Linked DNA regions of Homo sapiens: region 2 is linked to region 1. Evidence: promoter capture Hi-C in 16 types of primary human blood cells and fetal thymus (Javierre and others, 2016). All regions are on one chromosome and are shown on one strand. The core of a region is centred on a gene start or on the middle of the fragment in contact, and the rest is flanking DNA. Distances in the headings are between cores, read along the strand shown.

Evidence for each region. The method cuts DNA at HindIII sites, captures the fragments that hold promoters and counts their contacts. A CHiCAGO score of 5 or more calls a contact.
Region 2: the fragment with the promoter of OR4C5 here is called in contact with the fragment with the promoter of OR4S1 in region 1 in 1 of 17 cell types (monocytes); the score reaches 6.0 in monocytes.

What each region holds. Positions count from the first base shown.
Region 1 is chr11:48,304,644-48,308,409 of GRCh38, forward strand. It overlaps OR4S1 (olfactory receptor family 4 subfamily S member 1), which reads left to right and starts at 1,580. Exons shown (of 1, transcript NM_001004725.1): 1 at 1,580-2,509. The coding sequence starts at 1,580. The coding sequence ends at 2,509. The HindIII fragment of the contact is 12,544 bases long and covers 1-3,766 here.
Region 2 is chr11:48,364,678-48,368,428 of GRCh38, forward strand. OR4C5 (olfactory receptor family 4 subfamily C member 5) reads right to left here and starts at 1,788. Exons shown (of 1, transcript NM_001348223.2): 1 at 808-1,788. The coding sequence starts at 1,788. The coding sequence ends at 808. The HindIII fragment of the contact is 2,303 bases long and covers 500-2,802 here.

The sequences.
Region 1 (3,766 bases), core at 330-2,829:
CATCTCTTGCAAATTTCATTGGCTAATTTCAGTGTGGAAAGATTTTCTCTTATGGGGCATGATGGTGCTTTGCAATCCTTGTGGCCCAGACTGACACAAGCATATAATGGGATGGACTGAGTGGGTGGGATGGATTGGTTTTGGCACCAGTGGGATGTGGCTTTATAGTCTTTGTGTGGCCCTGTTAGCTGACGTCAATGTTGACCCAGATTTGAGGGATCCTCAGTGGCCAAATTCTTGGATGTTTGCAGTGACAGCAAGGGTTTTCAGGCTCGTTGCTGGTAGTGGCTGCTAAGGTCTTCCTTATTTAATTTTCTCCCACTGGGGAAGTTGTGGCTTAGGGAACCATTTGACATGGTTCTGGTATGTGTGCTTCCTCTTGATGTTGGTGGCACAGGTGTATTTTGGGTGGCACCTATTGTGCAGCCATGTAACTGAGGCTTGGGTCATGGGCACACCTGAAGGAACTATGGTTCTGGGATCTGGAATGATAATGACACTGGTGCTTAGGGTGAAGACACTCCTGCCACCACATAGGTAACAGTGCTAGAGGTGTGAATGCTTTGAAGCAGCCAGGGAGCCAAGAATGGGAGCATAGATATATGTAGAGTTACAATGGCTCTGGAGTTGGGGTAGGGACTAACTTTCTGTGGAGGGTGAACTGGTGCCCAAAGTGTGGGCATGCCCAGAGAGACCTTGACTCCAGGGCCCAGAGCTTGCTCTAGTGATGGCCCAGTGTCTGATACATGGGTGGGTGCAGTGCAGTCCCAGACCCTGGGTCTGAGTGTGAGCTCTCAAGGGGCAGCTGCAGTTTGGGGTTTGCATGGTGTTGGGGAGGTGGCAGCTCCTTTTCCAAAGTAGCTCAATAGCATCTGCTTCTTGCAGGTGGAGGCAGTACAGTTGTGTCTCCCTCTCTAGGGTTTCCTGGTGGGAATGGCTCTTGGTTATCTCAGTGGCATAAATGCTAGCGTTCTCTGCAAAGCAGGGATCTTGATGACTACCACCACATGGCTGATACTAATTGCCTCAACCTTTCCTGTTTGTTCCTAACCATCTCCTGGCATCTCAAGTATGCAGATATCACTAGAAATCCTTCGTGTGCGGCTATTCTCCATGTTTTTGCTCCTCTGTATTGCTGCAGATTCTTTAATGGGCCCTTGAACCCTCGCAGACCTATTTTGGTTTGTGGATAGCTGTCTCTCTCTCGCTCTAGAGATATATATATAAGATATACATATTTATATATTATATATTTAAGATATATATATTTATATATTATAGATTTATATATATTATTATATATAATATAAATTATATATTATATATATAATATATATTATAATATATATTATATATTATATATATATAATATATATTATTATATATAATATATAATTTATATATATATATAATAATATATTATATATATTATATATGTATTTTTTGTGATGGGGATGAAGGCTAGTATCTTTCTTACTCCATAATCTTGGTGGTATCTCAGAAAACTTTCTTATGTCTCATAATTTATGTCTTTGCAGAGCCAGCCAGCCACTTTGTCGGTCATCAGGGCAGATAATCCATGGGTGCCAAGAACAATGTGACTGAGTTTGTTTTATTTGGCCTTTTTGAGAGCAGAGAGATGCAGCATACATGCTTTGTGGTATTCTTCCTCTTTCATGTGCTCACTGTCCTGGGGAACCTTCTGGTCATCATCACCATCAATGCTAGAAAGACCCTGAAGTCTCCCATGTATTTCTTCCTGAGCCAGTTGTCTTTTGCTGACATATGTTATCCATCCACTACCATACCCAAGATGATTGCTGACACTTTTGTGGAGCATAAGATCATCTCCTTCAATGGCTGCATGACCCAGCTCTTTTCTGCCCACTTCTTTGGTGGCACTGAGATCTTCCTCCTTACAGCCATGGCCTATGACCGCTATGTGGCCATCTGTAGGCCCCTGCACTACACAGCCATCATGGATTGCCGGAAGTGTGGCCTGCTAGCGGGGGCCTCCTGGTTAGCTGGCTTCCTGCATTCCATCCTGCAGACCCTCCTCACGGTTCAGCTGCCTTTTTGTGGGCCCAATGAGATAGACAACTTCTTCTGTGATGTTCATCCCCTGCTCAAGTTGGCCTGTGCAGACACCTACATGGTAGGTCTCATCGTGGTGGCCAACAGCGGTATGATTTCTTTAGCATCCTTTTTTATCCTTATCATTTCCTATGTTATCATCTTACTGAACCTAAGAAGCCAGTCATCTGAGGACCGGCGTAAGGCTGTCTCCACATGTGGCTCACACGTAATCACTGTCCTTTTGGTTCTCATGCCCCCCATGTTCATGTACATTCGTCCCTCCACCACCCTGGCTGCTGACAAACTTATCATCCTCTTTAACATTGTGATGCCACCTTTGCTGAACCCTTTGATCTATACACTAAGGAACAACGATGTGAAAAATGCCATGAGGAAGCTGTTTAGGGTCAAGAGGAGCTTAGGGGAGAAGTGACATTCCAGAGAATCTCAATCCAGCTAGGAAATTGGGAGACTTTCCATCTTGTAGCATCTAACACAGCCTTTTTATTTCCAGTCTGATGTTTGCAATGGCAATTATCCTCCTAGCTCTTGTTGTTATAATAATTCCACATATTCTTTCAATCCTTTATTCATTAAATATTTATTGGATGTTTACAGTGAGTGAGAATACAAATAAAAGTAAGATATAATCTTTCCCTCAAGGAGAGTACAGTCCAGGATGCTTTTAGTGCGATATTTAAGAGCTCATTCAGGAAACGTGTGAGGGCCTGTGAATGAGGGAGTGTCTTGGAAGTCCAGATATCTCATTGATAAATGAATAAAATCACTACATAATTCCTTTGTGTTGGCTAACACAGTGCTCAATGGAATTCATTCTTTTCTTTTAAGAGTAAAGAGCCACTTTACTCTTACCCTTTCATGCTCTCAGCAGGCAGATAAATAAATAAATAAGTAAATAAATAATGTGGAGAGGTCAAGGGATTTACTAAAAGTTACACTTTAACTCCAGAGCAGGGTGAGGACTAGAACACAGGTCCCTAAGTCAGCTTTCAGAGCTTTTCCTCAGGACCTCTTGATAAAGTGTGACTAAATGGACACCAAGCAGGAATGACCAAGAACTTTTGAAAGACCAGGAATGATGGTGATGATGACTTGGGATGATGAAGAGAACAACCAGGAAGAACAAGTTGTCAGCACTTCTTTCAGTGGTGCTGATTCCTCTCTCCAGCAGAACAGCTGACTGCTGCCCTCTTTAACCCCTGTTGCTTTGCTCCATTTTGCCGCTAGAGGGAGCCAAGTTTGTACAGAATGCAATTAAACGAGCCGGATTAGGTATCTCTTAAACATTCGTGGGTCATGTAACCTCATTGGGCCTCAATTTCCACATTTACAGAAGGAGATATTGACAATACCAGCTTCAGAAGGCTGTGAGAGGACCTATAAGACTTTGTAAAGACCTAAATCAAAGTCTGTTGTTCAATGGTGGCTGCTAGCTGTTTTAACATAATATCTTCGATTCCCCTTTCTCTTCCTATTCACCCCTCTATCCTTTCCCTCAAAGCCCTTGTAACCAAACTATCTGATTATTTCATTTACTCCAAAAATGTTTATTGAACACTTAGCATTTGCTGGGTGATATTCCTGGGGCTAGAAGTACAGCACAAAAGAAAGCAGGCAAAACTCTTTGTTCTCATGGAGTTTATATTTCAGTGTGTGGTAAAAGCTGACC
Region 2 (3,751 bases), core at 538-3,037, 60 kb after region 1:
ACACCCAGCCACCAATTCTCTTTTGGGTCAGCTACTTTGTTTCTATTAGCTAAGGCACAAATCCATCCAATAAAAGCCATTTTTGAGGTGAAGTGGTGTATAGGATATTTTCGACAGAAAAAAAGTGCTTCACAAAATATCTTCTACCTGAGAAATAATGTCCAAGATTGTTCTATGATTGTACCTGGATGAATTTTCTACACCTCTTTGGCTGTAGACAGAGAAAATAATTTATTCTGGAGACAGCCAGATTATACTGTAAATGATCACCCCTGGAGTTGTGAACACAACAGCATTAATTTTGGATGAGTGCTGCTTTAACGACTCTCATTCCTCAAAACCCAATCGTTTCTCACCTATCTCTCTCTCTCACAATAATAGTTCTACTTCGATTTTATTAGTTGGGATTAAAACTATGCATTTTCAACAAAAGATTTAGCCATTAGGTCTTTTTGTTTATTTTAATTATTTGGCCTGTTAGTTATATACTCTATACCGAAGCTTTGCAGATAATTATTCTACTAAACACATAAACTCATGGGTTTTCCATACACTGTAACATTTTTATGTTGACTAGCAATGTCCCCCTGATTAATAATTTGTAAATGTGAAGAAGTTTCAAATTGGCAGAAACATTAGTCATCATTTAATCAGATATTGATCTTTTATGAAAAGGCATCATTAAAGATTCCAGAAAATGAGGGGAATAAAATATACTTAAACTCACTATTCTGACCTCAAGACCTTTACCCTTTTCATTAGTCATACCTGTTGTTAAAATATGAGTAGGTTCTGTGTTTATCTTCTCTAATCACACAAATTGTTACCCCAGATTATTTGGCTCCAGAGCTGCTTCATGGCATTTTTCACCTCTGTGTTTCTGAGGGTGTAGATTAAAGGGTTTAACATGGGTGTTACCACAGTATAAAACACAGACACAGCTTTATCAATAGGGAAGGTGATCATGGGTCGAAGGTACACCAATATACAGGGAACAAAGAATAGGACGACTACAGTGATATGGAAGGCGCAGGTAGAGAGAGCCTTCCGCTGTGAGCAGAGGATTAGGACGTAAGAGGTAATAAGAATAGAAAAAATGAGCATACACATCAGCCCACTGTTGGCGGCAACAAAGAGTCCAAAGACGTGAGTGTCAGTGCAGGAGAGTTTTAGCAGAGGGAAAAGGTCACAGATGAAATGGTCAATGACATTGGGGCCACAGAAGGGCAGCCAGACTATTAAAAGCATTTGAATCAGAGCGTGAAGAAATCCCCCGACCCATGCCATGGCCACCAGGAGGCCACATACCTGCCTGTTCATTGTGATCAGGTAGTACAGGGGCTTGCAGATGGCCACATAGCAGTCATAGGCCATCACCACGAGCAGAATGATCTCAACTCCCCCAAAGAAATGTTCTACAAAGAGCTGGGTCATGCACCCACTGAAGGAAATAGTTTTCTTTTCAGTGAGTAAGTCAAATATCATTTTGGGGGCCATGGTAGAAGAGGAGCAGCCATCTATGAAGGAAAAGAAAGACAGAAAAAAATACACGGGGGAGTCCAGGGCTGGGCTGGTGGTGATTGTCACCACAATGATTAGGTTGTCTACCATGGTGAGAAAGTAGATGAGTGTAAACACAGCAAACAAGAGTTTCTGTGCCTCTGCGTTCTGTGTCAGGCCAAGCAAGATGAATTCCGTTATGTTGTTCACTTGCTCGAAATCCAGTTTGGTATTTGGATAATTGATTTTTCTGTGAATAGCACAAGGATTGCAATTTGACACATACATTTTGAACAATAAAATAATTTTGGTCAGGATTATTTTCTGTAACACTGATGGAATCCCTAAATCTATAAACCCAAGACTAAGTTGAGCTATGTTATTCATGACATAATGAACACAGATACCTCTTCTCTCTCATACAGAGACACACACAGACACAGAAAAACACATACACACATTCATTTATGTACACAAACATGATTTTATGATGTTGACATGTCAGGCATTTTTCCTATGATTGTACATGGATGGATATTCTCTCAATCACCCTTACAGCATTTTTTTCCCCATAGAAAAACAGCAGTAAAAAGAGGAGGAGCAGAGGCTTGAATTCCTGTCAATTTCCTAGTTTCTTTTTTTTTTCGTTTTTTTTTTTTTTTTAACCACTCATGTTCATGAGGCTACGGTGCAGAGTTTGTTATTCTGGTTATTTTTAACTTGTTTCAGGGTAACTATAAAACATCAGGTGAGTTCACTTTGAAATTAAGGATGATGCCACCACATTTCAGAATCAACTGAACTGAGTGAATGTTTGAGGCTGCAGTAAGATACTCCATGGCAGTTAGATTTGAGAATTTATGCCACATCCAAACAGAATTGTCTAAGAATACAATCAAACACTTCTGGAAGCATATCCTGGAAGAGGATAAAACAGCATGATGCAAGGCAGCATTCCCCAGATGTATCTGAAACTTTAGAATTCACTTGGAGAACTGTCATGTTTAGAATTCAGGGCATTTTGCAAATCAAAACCCAATTTAAGGATGACTATGAAAAATTATATGGATCTGTTTAGAAAACATAATTTTAAGGTGAGGGAAAAAAAGCACCATAATTTATTGGACAGAGTGTTTTTTAGAATCAGATGCCTAATTTTTACATTTTATCTTCACTGACTATTAGCCACATGATATTGTGTACAGATCTTAGTCTCATTGTGCCTAAACTTTTTCATATATAAAATGGGAAAAATAACAAATGGAATGGAGGAACTAAAGAATATCATGATTAAATATATCAAGCTTTGTATCCTAAAGGTAAACCTATAGCTTACCATGTACTCCACATCTTGATAAAGAACACAAGTAAACAAAATTTTGCATATAATTATTTTTATCTTTAAGTTATTTATCATTGTAATATTAAGAGAGAAAATAAATGAACTCAGTACTCAACTCAAGGTAAATAACAAGCAATTATATTCAGAAAAAAAGGTGTAACACAGAAAGACATCAGGCAATAAAAAATTAGACTTGATAACTAAATTAAAAAGCTTTTTGATATTTTAAAAATACAAAGAAAACTGAAGAATAGAAATGAGCTCAATAAGAAACAAATATGGTAATACCACCAAAGGATATTATTTGTGAATAATATTTAGAAAGGTATTATGTGTAGCTCATAAAAGATTTTAAAATAACTAGATAGGTGTTTTTCAAAACGAAATAAGTCTCTTCTTAATGGAATCATCAAAAAAAGAAAAAAAAGAACCAAAGAAAAAGAGAAAAAAGAATAGCATGTATTAAAGACTTCAGGTAAAACATAGATCTTTTCAAAACCAAAAAAAAAATCAATATATATTTCATCTGTAGCTAAGAAAGGATATTTTAAAATAAAAATATAATGGTATAAGATACAAAACAAAACTGATGAGCTCAGCTACATAAAGGTATGGAACACCTTGGAAAAATAATTGCAACAAGTATGACAACTGTTATTATAAAAGCAGTTAACAAATTAAAATGTTTACTCACACTATTAAGGTGTGAATTAAGGTGTAAATAAGGGTAAAACTAAGAAAAGATAATTCTCAGAAAAAACATTAGACATCTAAAAAGTCCTCTTTCATAAGTTACCAAAGAAATGCAATTTTAAAACAGTAAAATACTGATGAATTGGCAAAGATTTATGATAGTTGTGTTATTCAGTGGTGGTGAATGTGTGTTGACATAAAACATTCTAGAAAGAA